Linked DNA regions of Homo sapiens: region 2 is linked to region 1. The links are contacts of gene promoters, found by promoter capture Hi-C in blood cells and fetal thymus (Javierre and others, 2016). All regions are on one chromosome and are shown on one strand. Each heading gives the region's core, a stretch centred on a gene start or on the middle of the fragment in contact. The rest is flanking DNA. Distances are from core to core; before and after follow the strand shown.

Region 1 (6,612 bases), core at 3,803-6,302:
CGTAGAAAGTAAATGGCCGCAGATCAGATCCAATCCTTATCCCACAGAATGAACCTTGTTTCCTTGATTAAAAATAATAATAATAACAAAATGAATGTTGGGGTTAAGTAAATGTGAGTTAATTACTAAGTTGTGACCACGTTCACAGTTTCTGAGGCTAAACACTTCAACGCTCCTTGTCAGTTTATGTTAGGCAATAATTTGAATGACTACTGGTTAGCTGTTTCACTTCATTCATATTAAGAAACAATATACAAAGGGTATAAAGTGATCAGCTCTGTTTACGCTGAGGAGGAGGGTTATAAAATCAGCTAACAGGGAGCAGGGCAGAGGGGAGAGTGCTCAGGGTTTTTGATGTGCTTCTGATGATCGTTTACGAAGGAAAATCTTTGGAGAAACTTTTAAATGTAGACACTCTGGGAACAGTGAAATGATGCAAAGCCCTCAACGGCATTTTCAGCATGGACCAGGGAGAGAGGAGAGAGTTTCCCTGGAACACACAGCTTGTCGATAAGAAAGAGCCTACAAAATACTCCAGGTCAAAAGGAGCGAGATCCAGGATCAGTTGAACTCCTGCAAGACCTGCCAGTGCCGAATTACAGCAATCTTGGTGCCTGCTGAGGTGGGAGTCAGGGAGGCTGTGGAATTCTGAGCTTCCTGGTTGGCTGAGGAGAGAGGGCTCAGGGGAGAGGTCTTCCTCCCACCACTGCCTTAGAGAAACCCCAAAACCTCATAGCTTCGAACCCCAGAATTCTCTGGTCTTCTGCAAAAATGCAGACATGCTGGTGTCAGGAATCAGCCTGGAGTCCCAGGAGCAGCATCTCACATCTTTACGGCAACACAAAACAAAGCAACACAAAAACAACAAATGCAAAGATATCTTCTTGAGGAGAGGCCTCAACTGAATGAGCAGGGAGGGGCGTGTTCCTTAAACCAGTGGTTCTCAAAAGGTGGTATCTGGACCAGCAGCAGCAGCAGTGCCACCTGGGTGCAGACCAGAGGATTCCAGAGCCCTGAGGGCTCCTAGAAGGAACACAGTGACATCACAGAGTCATTGTGGGGGAGGGGTTGGGCCAGCCAGGGCAGGCAGGGACAGCCCCTCTGATGAGGAGGCCACTGGGCTGAGACCAATGAATGAGATGGAGCCAGCCACGTGGTGAGCCAGAAGAGGGCATCACAGGTAGTGGGTCCAGCATGTGCAAAGGTCCTGGGGCAGGACAGTTCTTGGGGGTATTTGAGGTACAGGATGATCCCTGGATGAGCGCCTGGGTGCATGAAGCATGTGTGGAGAGTGTCAGCTCCCAGCGTGGCTGCAGGAGGGAGTTGTTTAATGAGTACTGAGTTTCAGCTCTGCAGGATGAAAGGAGTTTGTGTGTTAGAAATGCACATTCTCAGCCCCACCCCGGCCCCGTCACAGACCCTCCAGGGAACCCTCATGCAAGCCCAAGTCTGAGATCTGCTGCTCTCAACAACTGGGTGTTTCCCCAAGGGCCCCTCTGGGTGAATCTCAGATGTAGCGTGGGGAGAGAGGATACAGAGGCTGACCCCTGGCAAACTCTTCCCTCTGATACTCAGTGTTCAGGTCCATGAAATGGGCTCCCGAAGTCCAACCTCACAGACCCCATAGGAAAGCAGATGGAATCTCCAAGGGCACCAGCTATACATGGTGGTGGAAGGACCAACGCATGCTCTGAATGCCACTGCGGACCACAGGCCAGTGCCCTCCATGAGCCTGACCTCAGGCCTCAGTAATCGCTCCTTCTCTGTCCAACACGGGCCCTTTTTCTGTCCTCCTCTTTCTTTAGGCCTTTCTCTGTCCCTCACGACTGGCCTCACCCCGTCCTGGGCTCTGCAGAACTGGTGCATGGCTCTGCCAGGGGGTGAACCCTGGCTCTGCCCCTTTTCTGACTGAGGAAGCTGCTTGGCCTTTCTGTGTCTCAGCTGATCTCTAAAATGGGAGTGAAAATCTCTAAACTCATTGGCCGCAGTGAGAATTAGAGAAGACGCAGCACCCTGCTATATGCCTGGCATGGTTGCCGTCCGCCAACAGTGCCTACCAGTTATTATCAACCAGTCATGCTCTGAAACTCTCCACCCACCTAAACATGTGAGACCTCTGTGACACCCCCATCCTAGAGCTCCTTACGACCTCATTGGTTGAGCCCATGGATTCCTCTGTTTCTTAGATATCACCATTTTCCTTTCATGCGTGACTGTATAGAACCAGGTACCTGTAAACAGGAGCGTCTGCTCTGGAGCATCCTCTATTCTAATTTCTTAGCATCTCCCATTTGTGGTTTGCCATGAGAAATGAGCTTGTGGCTGTGGGCAGCCTCCCTGGGCTGTCTTCTTCCTGCTCATGTGGGATCAGGCTCGGAGCTGGAGGTCACTGCCTGCAGGGCTCCCCGGGAGAAGCACTGCACAGGATGCTCTGGGGTGATGAAAAGTTCCAGATTGGGCCATCCAGGGTTCCAGTCAGCAGCCATTAGCCACGAGTGGCTGTGCTCTTGAAGGGTGGCTCAGAAGCCTAAGAGCTGCATGTGTATCTTATGTGATCTGAATTGAAGTGTAAGCAGACACCTGTGGTGAGCAGCTTCCGAGGTGGACTGCAGCCCTGGGGAGTATCCCCCTGCTTCCAGGCTGTGCTCCCTGAGCCCCAAAGGTTCCAGCAGGTGCTTTCGGGGTTGCACCTTAGAGGCAGAAGGCAGGAAAGGTCGGTCGGCAGGGCTTTGTGGCCCCACCTTCTACAGAGCACGTGTGTCCTCATCCACGCACCATGCTGTTTGAAGAAAGCTTAGGAAAGGAATGATGAGACCCGTGACTTCAGTCAAGCCTTTGCTGAACATATAAGGAAACAGAGAGGGTCATGAAGTGGAAGGACTCACACAGCCACCCCTCCTTCAGTGGGGAAAGCGAGCCTGGGAACATGCTCAAGCCCCTTTGGGGTGGGGGGTGGGAAGATGGCGACAAGCAGTTCCTTGTGGACCCCGGTCCCTGACCCCACAGAGTGGGGACCCCAAGGGCAGTGAGGGGCAGAGTGAGTTTGTACCAGGCACTGGGACCCCAAGCTCCCTCTCTCTGGCCATGGCTGTGGGGGTCCCCAAGTGGAAGTGGAAGAGGGAAACTGAGGAAAACAAAATGGTCCTGCTTGAGAGAGGGAACATGGGCTGCTTTCTCCTCCCCCACCAGCTAGTCCAGTGAGCCTCATCTGTTCTCACGCTACTAATAAAGACATACCTGAGAATGGGGAATTTATAAAGAAGGAGGTTTAATGGACTCACAGTTCCACATGGCTGGGGAGGCCTCACACTCATGGCAGAGGACAAAGGAGAGGCAAAGGCAGGTCTTACATGGTGGCAGGCAGGAGAGCTTGTGACAGGGAATTCCCATTTAAAAAACCATCAAATCACGTGAGACTTACTCACTACCATGAGAACAGCATGGGGGAAACCACCTCCATGATTCAATGATCTCCACTTGGCCCTGCCCTTGACATGCTGGGATTATTACAATTCAAGGTGAAATTTGGGTGGGGACACAGCCAAACCGTATCAGAGCCTTTGAGATGTGTCGAGGCTGCCACCCCAGCTGAATTCATCAGCAGGACAGGAAGGGGGCTGGGAAGGGCTGTAACTTTCTTGCTCTGTGATCCAAGCTGAGACAGAAATGTTTGTTGAAAGGGGCTGGGGTCAAACAAGCCTGGGTTCAAATCCTGTCCCACCCTTGCTTGTTCTGTGACCTCGGAAGTCAGTTCCCCTCTCTGAGCTTCCTTTGTCTCATCTGTAAAATGGGGACAAAATATAAAATGTAAAAATACAAACCAGGAAGTTGGAAGTCATACACTTTCTGATTTCAAAAGTTACTAGAAAACTATGACAATCAAAACACTGTGGTCCTGACCTACATACAGACAGATAGACCAATGGGACAGAACACAGAGCCCAGAAAGAAGCCCTTTGACTTATTTGACATTCAAGTGTCTTGAGCCAAGACCCTTCAGTGGGGAAAGGGCAGTCTTTTCAAAAAATGGTATTTGGAAAACCAAATACCACACGCAGAAGAATGAAGTTGAGCCCTTCTCTTACACCAGATACAAAAAATTAACTCAAAAAGGATCAAAGGCATTACCATAATAACTAAATGTAAAAAAACTACAAAACTCTTAGAAGAAAACATAGGGGGAAAGCTTCACAATGTTGGACTCGGCAGTGGCTTCTTGGCCACGACACCCAAGAACAGGCAAGAAAAGGAAAAACAATTAAATCCATGCAAACACGTGTGCACAAATGTCCTCAGAGCGCTATTCCTAACAGCCAAATGCTGAGAGCAACGAAAATGTTCATTGACAGGAGAATGGATAAACAAAACGTGGTCCATCCATACAGTGGAATATTATTCAGCCTTAAAAAGGAAGGAAGTTCTGACACCTGCTATGACATGAGTGAGCCTTGAGGATATGGTGCCGAGTGAAACAAACCACTCATAAAAGGACAAACATTGTATAATTCCACAGACATGACTTGCCTAATGTCAGCAAATTCTCAGAGATAGAAAATAGCAGGTGGCGGAGGGCTGCTCAGGGTTACGGGGATGGGGGTGGTGTTTAACAGGGACCTTCCTGAGCTATTTCCTGATAGCAGCTGGGAGCCTTTTGAACAGCCTGCAGCGGGATTCTGGAACAATCTAAACTGGCCATGGCAGTTCCAGGGGCAGGGCTGACTTTGAACTCCAGCAGGAAGTGCAGTGCGAGGCCAGCTCACCCACTTCAGCGTCTCTTTCCTTTGTGTTGTTTAGACCCCCAAAAACACCCCCAAGTCCTGTCTCCCCTTGTGGAGGAAAGGCTGGTGGGAGGAAAGAAGGCTTGTTGAGTATCTACTGCACACCCGGCCCTGGGGCTACGGCTGGAAGCTGGACAGGCCGGGTCCTTGCCCTCCTGAGACCTGCCTTCTAGTGGGGAGAGAGATAGAGACGGAGGAAACAAAACACAGACCAGAGGATTTCAGAGGGTCTGAGGGCTCCGAGGAGAAGGAACACGATGATGTCATAGAGTCATTGTGGGGGAGGGGCCGGCCAGCCAGGGCAGGCAGGGGCGGCCTCTCTGACGAGAAGGAGGCCACTGGGCTGAGGCCAATGAATGGGAAAGAGCCAGCCATGTGGTGAGCTGGGAGAGGGCATCCCAGGCCGTGCGACCTGCGCTTGCAAAGGCCCTGGGGCCGGACAGTTCTTGGCAGAGTCTGAGGTACAGGATGATCCCTGGATGAGCGCCTGAGTGCACGAAGCATGGGTGGAGAGGGTCAGCTCCCAGCGTGGCTGCAGGAGGGGGTCGTGTAATGAATACTAAGTGCCAGTTCTGCAGGATGGAAACAGTTTTGAAATTGGACGGTGGCGATGGTGGTGCGATAATGCGAATGGACCCAATGCCACTGAAATATTCACTTTAAAAAAGTTAAAATGGCAAGGTTTACATTAACTAGACTTTGCCATAATAAAAGAAAAAGGAAAAAATATAATAACTGTGTGAAGTTGAGATGAAATGATGCAACTAATAATTTAGTTTGGTTAGCAAAGAGTAGGCACTCACATAGTTCAATATAACCATCATTATGACGGTACCCTGTCAGTGCTGGGGGATGCTTTATGAGGGAGGTGGAAGACGAGGAGGAGGCGGAGAGAGAAAGAGAATCAGCTTCTGTTATCCACAGCAGGATGCCTCTGGAGTTGTTTGAAGTAGAAAGGTAGTCCATGTGATCCCGTTTATATTGTAATATTGCTTGAGTAGGTCTTTAAAATTACAAAGTACTAGATAGAGCTAACTCAGCCCAGTCCTAATAATCACGACTCCTTGAGTATCTGTGAGGCTTCTGGTACGTTCTCTACAGTCCCAACATTGGGACCGACTGAACCATGTGTTGCACATTAAATCCAGGGTCCGGGACACCTCCCAGGCCACCTCTGTCATTTCACAAGTGCCAGGCCATCTTCTCAGTGCTTGTGAGCATCCCTTCACACTCAATCCTTCCCACACACCTGCCAAAGGGAAGGAGGCAGGAACCACCTACGGATGCCAAGAAACAGGCGGCATGGTCCTCCCGCCCTCGAGGCTGTTACCACCTGGAACACCCCACCCCAAAAGTAAGACCACCTACCATCTGGGCTTCTGTCTCACACAGGATATAGCCTCTCAGTGGCCAACTGTTTTTAATAAGGGTCTGCCAGTTCTAATGATATTGCACAGACACGGGGAAGGGGAGAGAGGAGACAGGACTTTGTCATGAGCTGTTCATCCCTCCAACAGCAGTGCTGGTGTCACGGCTGATGGGCAAAATTCCTACAGATGCCTTCTCTTAGAAACTCACTTCCCTCTGGAACCAGACGCAGGCTTCTCCAGGAAACAGCTCACTACCTGACACAATCCCCAACCCCCCTCTGTCTTCTTTTCCCTTTTGCTTGGGAGAGCGTTTTGGGCCACTGCCAAGAGAGAGAGACCTTAGGCTGCGCACCGAGTCCAGGCATCTATGTTTACTAAGGAACCAAGAGTCCCTCTCTTGAAAAAGAAAGAGAAGAGAATTTTTTTTTCTTTCCTGTGAAAGCCATTGCTGTGGCTAGGGCCAT
Region 2 (7,053 bases), core at 4,015-6,514, 74 kb before region 1:
ATGCAGGCTTTCCCTCTTCTTTGAGGGGAGATGTGATGACGGGGGATGGGTGGGTGCCAATTACAGCTGCACCGGGTGAATGAAGGGCTAGGGGTGGGTCAAGTTAGGTTGTATTTCCTGGGTCAGGAGCACTTAACGAGGTGACTTATGGGCATGGGCATGTGCTCGAGTGTGTGACTCAGATGTCAGCAGCTGCTTCCCCGGGCTATCAGGAATCCAGGTGACCTCGGGTGGAACTGCCCATCCCACTGTTAGGAAGGCCTGGGTGCCACCCACACTTTCATCCCATTCGTGAGGCAGGGGCTCCGTGGGTCTTCTCTACCCTGGGGCTGAATGCACCCTCCTGCTGCTGTTCATCCTGTCCACTGAGACAGGAAGCTCGGCCCTTTCGCTCCCATTGCAGGAATGTGGGCCTGGAGAGGGCGGGGACTTTGTTTTGCTCCTGGTTGTATCCTTGTGCCTAGGACAGGGCTTGGCACCAGGTAGGTGCCCAAGAAATATTTATAGAAGGAATGAATAAATAGCTCACCACAAAACACCACTCACAAGAGGCTTTTTGTGAACACAGTGCCTTGTGTGGAAGATTTGATGCTCGTGGGAGGGGTCTCCTGCCACACCATCGTCCCCTTCTGCCCTCTCTGCCTCCGCCAAAGCAGCTTAACCCCTGAAGAATGTGCAGGCTCAGACCTTGAGGGAGGTGCAGAGGAGTGAGGAATCTTCCTTCAATAGGCTCCTCCCATGTTTGGAGACAGGCCGGGCTGGAGCTGGAAGAAAAATAACCTTTCCACTTTCTGTCACATGTTCGTGTCTCAGAGCCTGCTCGAAGGGCAATGCCAAAGAAAATCTGGAAATGGGCCTTAGGCAATAGTGTCAGTGTGGAAATTAAATCGTCTAGAAGAGGTCAGCAAACGACAGGCCGACAGCCAAAGGGGCTGTTTTCATACAGTCCGAGAGCCAAAAGTGGGTTTTTGCATTTTAAAATGGTTGAACAAATCAAAAGAGGAATTCTGTTTCATGACATATGAAAATTATGTGAAATTCAAATTTCACTGCCTGTAAAGTTTTATGGGGACACAGCCATGCCCGTTTGTTTGTGGATTGCCTAAGGTGGCTTTTATGCTACAATGGCAGGGTTGAATCATGGCAGCAAAGACCGTACGGCCCACAAATTCTAAAATATTTACCATCTGGCCGTTTACAGAAAATGTTTACTGACCCTGGGCTGAAGTGACAACGGTGGAACCTAAAACTCACATGCGTTTGTGTTTGTCTAGGGGCTGGTGGTGCGTACGTTAGCCCCTCTCGGCCGCAGAACTAGGGTTAGTCCAGATATTCCCGAGTCAGGTGTGGCTGTGGCGCTGCGTGGTCGTTGCCGTACCAGGGCGTTCTCTAGGCGGCCTTTCTGAGCATCCTTGCAGAACACATCGATTATTTTAAGTCCTCCAAACACAGCAGCAAAATTCTTGCTTGTGAAGTACCCTTCTTGCCTTAAAGGTGTGTTGAAACCTGACTTCTGCTCACAAGCCTCAGTTCTGCTGCCTAAAATAATACTCCAGGATGCTGGCAAGGGAATAGTACACTTCCTGCGAGTGTTCAGTTCACATTCTCCCAAAAATAACACCGAGACTGTTAACACCTGCGCTTTCCAACGTTTCCTCGCTCACAACAGGGAGATTAATGGGTTCCATTCAGAACGGACCTTTCTGACCTCATCTATGAAGTCGGGGAACTCAGGAAATTGCTTGCTAATCCAAATCTTGATAGTCCCAAGATCCTGACATTCTTCCTGCCCCTCCCCCTTTGCAGCCTGAAAATCCCCCCATCTGAACTGAGTTACAGCTTTGAAAGTTTTGATAAGATACCGGGCAGATTATTCCCCATGGATACATTCTAATATTTATTGAATGGGGAGATCACAGATGATGTGGTTCGACAGGATGAAAAGTGGCCCTATTAACCCCAAAGAGCTGGTCCATTAACAGAGAGAAGAAAACAGGAGCAAGCGGGAAAAAGGAAGAAGGTTGCAGTCTGTAAGACTTCATCTCTTTGTCACGTCGCGAACATCTCAAGGAAAGGTAGAAACCGTGCATGGTGTTTGCACATGCGAGATGTCTTGGGGGACCAACAGGTTCCTAGTCAATGAAGGTTTGTTCAGACCCTTGGTCATGCGGTATAGCCAATCCTCTCAGTAACCTTCTACAGTAGGTATTTCAGCCTCATTTTACAGGTGAAGTAAAATAAGTTTACTCAGGGAGAGATGGGATTTGAACCCAGGTCTCTTGGCTTCCAGGCAAATAGACTATGAACTCCTCAAGGGAAGGGACCAGGTCTTATTTAGCTGTGCGTTCCCATTACAGAGCACAGCTCTGGCACACAATAGGTTCTCCTGAAATGCACATTGACAGTGAAATGGTCTGTGTTTTCCTGACCTCCCCACTCCCTGCCTGCAGTGATTTCTCCTTCCTCTCACCTGGGGGGATGTATGGTCTCTACAAGTCACCTGGAGCTTATAACATGCTTATCTTAAACGCTACTTAACTCATCTAGAGTACTTAAAATTTTTTCATTTCATATATGGTTAATATATTCAGGAGTTTAAAAGGGTTTATGGAGGAAAGAAATTCTCCTTCCAACTTCTGTCCCCAGAGTGGTAGTCATTAACGCTGTTCACTAAATAGGTTCCACTCTCTACCTTCTAGGCACCCAGAGATTTGCAGTTCCTGCTCCCCCTGTGGCTGAGGGGATCATGTGACAAGCGCTACCAGTGACTGTGAGCAGCAGTCACATATGTCCCTTGAAGGTTGGCACAGTTTATTGTCAGCTCAAGGAAGACCTCCAGACCTCCAGAGATCCTCCAGACCTCTTTACCCTCAGGTGTGGCAACCAGCAGGCTTGATTCTTGAGTGATATATGAGCAGAGAATGCCCATTATCCCATGAGCATTTGTATAGATGAAAAGTCAACCTCTGTTGTTTAAGCCACTTTGATTTTGGGGGTCGTTTGCTACTGTAGCATCACCTGGCGTCTCCTGACTAACCCACCCAGCCTCTTGGTTCCCCTTCTAGGAAGCCGCCACTCTTACCATTTTCTTGGGTATCCTTCCAGATGTAACAACAACCCACACAAGAAAATACAGTCACCTGGTACTTAACAGCAAGATATATTTTGAGAACTTCATTGTTAGGCAACTTCATCATTGTATGAACATCATAGAGGGTACTTACACAAACGTAGATTGTATGGCCTACGGCACACCTAGGCTACATGGTACAGCCTGCTTCTCCTAGGCCACAAACCTATACAGCATGCTACTATAATGAATGGTGTAGGCAATTGCAGAACAATAGTAAGTAATTTTCTATCTAAACATAACTAAACATGGAAAAGATAATGCATTGCACTACAAGGATAGGAATTTTTTAGCTCCTTTATAATTTTTTAGCTCCATTATAAACTTATGGGATCGCTGTCATATATGTGGTCTTTTTTTTTTTTTTTTTTTTTTTTTTGAGACAGTCTCACTCTGTCGCCCAGGCTGGAGTGCAGTGGCATGATCTCAGCTCACTGCAAGCTCTGCCTCCCGGGTTGACGCCATTCTCCCGCCTCAGCCTCCCAAGTAGCTGGGACTACAGATGACCACCACCACGTCCAGCTAATTTTTTGTATTTTTTAGTAGAGACAGGGTTTCACCATGTTAGCCAGGATGGTCTGGATTTCCTGACCTCATGATCCGCCCGCCTCGGCCCCCCAGAGTGCTGGGATTACAGGTGTGAGCCACCGTGCCCAGCCATATGTGGTCTGCTTTTATGTGGTGCATTACTGCATATAATATACATTACCTACTATTCTCTGTTTTGCTGTTTTTTTTTCACTTAATATATCTTGGACATACCTCCACATCAATGTATAAATATCTGCCTCATTTTTTGACAGTTGAATTATATTCCACTCAACGTATGCATCATCAATTATTTAAACAGCACCCAGTTGTCAGGCCTTCAGTTTTCACATTTTTGCTATTACAAATCGTGCTGCAATGAATAACCTTGTAAGTAGGTTGATATGATTTGGATCTGTGTCCCCACCCAAATCTCATGTCGAATTGTAATCCCCAGTGTTGGGGGTGGGGCCTAGTGGGAGGTGACTGGATCATGGGGTGGTGTCTCATGGTTTAATACCATCCCCCTTAGTGCTATCATCATGATCATGAGTGAATTCTCATGACATCTGGTTGTTAAAAAGTATGTGGCACCTCCCCTCTCTCTTCCTCCTACTCTGGCCATGTGATTTGCCTGCTTCCCTTCACCTTCTGCCATGATTGCAAGTTTCCTGAGGCCTCTCCAGAAGCAGAAGGCGCTATGCTTCCAGTACATCCTGCAGAACTGTAAGCCAATTAAACCTCTTTTCTTTATAAATTACCCAGTCTCAAGTATGTTTTTTTAATAGCACTGCAAGAATGGACTAATACATATGTGATTTTGGACTCCTGAAATTCTATCTTTAGGGCAAATTAAGTACTTTATCTTTTTAATTTGTAAAATGAGAATAATTGTGATAACCTACCTGGACAGGGTTGTTGTGCGGATTAACGGCTTAGTACAGGTAAAATCCTCTAGCATGTAGTAAATGCCTATAAATAAATAATAAATATTTATACTATATAAAGAAATAAATATTATTTTACAATTAACTTTGGGGTAAGTTAGTGATATTAAAATAGGCAAAACAAAATTCCCAAACAAAATCACATTTAGTGAAGAAAGGGGCAGAAAAAGTTAGTGTCATGTTATTATTAATATATATGTTATTGTCAAATTTGCCATATACAGAAGAATTTCCTTCATCTATTCATCCACTTCACCATTCTTTCATCTGACAGACTTTAGTTTTTGAGAACCTACTGTGTGTTATGCTAGAAACAGGAAGTACTAATGTGAATCATACAGAAAAGCATGTGTTATTATTATCTCCACTTTACCCAAAGGTCAGAAATAAAAATAATGTTATTTTGTGTCTCACCCAAGAGTTTCTTTAATGTTGCTACTTTTTGTAAAGTAGATCAAAATTTCAAGATGATAGTTAATCTTTAAGGGGAAGTCTCATGAGTTTGCTACCTTGAGGAACTTTAAGAAATAGGTTTTTAAAAATTTTCCAAATGAGGTTGACTTGTTGGCTTCCATTAAGCTTATGTGGTGATAAGGAGAGTCACTTTTCCCACAGAGTGAGTGTCCCAGCTCCCAATTCTGCTCTTCCATTCTTCCTGCAGTTTTGGAGGGCCAGGCACTGATGCTTTCTAGAATTCCCAGAAAAAGAATTACAGCAAACTGTTCCTGCAGTAAGCTTATTATGTCTTATGTCTCAGTATTACAAAATATATTGTGGTTATTTGCTGATATTAGGCAAATGTTGATTGATTTTTATCTCAGGTCTCCTGAAGAGAAATGTTTGGACTGGATGGGTGGTCAGACTGCTTGAGATCTCCATCACCACTGCTCACACTGACACATTATCATCACCACCATAAGTATCATCATAATCATCACCACCATTATCACTGCCAATCATCATCATCGCCACCATCACCATCGTCATCATCACCATCAGCATCAGCACCATCATCATCACCATCACCATTATCATCACAACCATCACCATCATCATCATCACCATCAGCACCATCATCATCACCATCACTATCATCACAATCACCATCACCAGCATCATCACCATCATTATCACCATCATCATCACCATCACCACCACCACCATCATCACCATCACCATCACCACCACCACCATCATCACCATCACCATCACCACCATCATCATCATCACCATCACCATCACCACCACCACCATCATCATCACCATCACCATCACCACCATCATCACCATCATCATCACCATCACCACCACCACCATCACCATCACCACCATCATCACCATCACCACCACCACCATCATCATCACCATCACCACCACCACCATCACCATCACCACCATCATCACCATCACCACCACCACCACCCCCATCATCATCACCATCACCATCACCACCATCATCATCATCACCATCACCATCACCAGCACCACCATCATCATCACCATCACCATCACCACCATCATCACCATCACCATCACCACCACCACCATCATCATCACCATCACCACAACCACCATCATCATCATCACCATCATCACTACCATCATCATCACCATCACCATTATTATCACCATCATCACTACCATTATCACCACCATCATCATCATCACCATCATCACTAACATTATCACCATCACCATTGTCATCATCACAGCTACCATTTATTTTGCACCTACTATATTCTAGATACTGTACATACTGTATTTCCCTTAATTTTCACAACAACTCTAAGAACTGAAGTCAGTTATTTTCATTTTACAAAGAATGAAAACAATACTCAGAGAATTTAATAAACTTGCCCAAGGGAAAACAAGCAGTGAGTGGCAGGTCCAAGAATCTAAGTCCAGGACAACGTGATACCAAGCCCAGCGCTCTTTATGCTACACTTTGCTGTTTCTTTAAGAATCAACTCTAAGATTAAAGCACATGCAGTATGACTGAGGAGGACAATAGGATGATGATGATGTGATGATGAAAGCTACCAAGTACTGACGATGGTGGTGGTAGTGGTGGTGAAGATGATGAGTGTTGCTAGACACCACTCCAAGTGCACTACATATACTAACTCATATTAATTTTCATAAATATAATCATTATATCCAGTTTTCCAAAGAGAAAACTGAGGCTCAGAGAGAGTAAGCTACTCAATGGCAGCAAAGCCTGCCAACTCTGGGACTCATGAGGTTAGGTGACCTTGTAACGTTCTGTCTCCGTCATAAGCAGCACGATGGGAACTTGTTGTGAGAATTATAAAAACTCCCCCAACAAAATCTCCTGCATGGTATTTGTTTAGTGAAATCCTTATTATTACTGCGGTTACTAATATTATTGGTGCTGGTTTTGCTACTATTATCATAATCATCATTATTGAGCTTCTACCCATTCTGTAA

The links. The method cuts DNA at HindIII sites, captures the fragments that hold promoters and counts their contacts. A CHiCAGO score of 5 or more calls a contact.
Region 2: a contact is called between a fragment that was not itself captured here and the fragment with the promoter of LINC00917 in region 1, in 1 of 17 cell types (endothelial precursors). The highest score is 6.0, in endothelial precursors.

Annotation. Positions count from the first base shown.
Region 1 is chr16:86,344,119-86,350,730 of GRCh38, reverse strand. LINC00917 (long intergenic non-protein coding RNA 917) reads left to right here and starts at 5,052. Exons shown (of 7, transcript NR_024406.1): 1 at 5,052-5,239. The HindIII fragment of the contact is 3,722 bases long and covers 4,189-6,612 here.
Region 2 is chr16:86,418,319-86,425,371 of GRCh38, reverse strand. No RefSeq gene overlaps it. Among named protein-coding and RNA genes, the nearest start is that of LINC00917, 76 kb to the right of the region's middle. RefSeq lists enhancers at 175-469, 282-782. The HindIII fragment of the contact is 156 bases long and covers 5,187-5,342 here.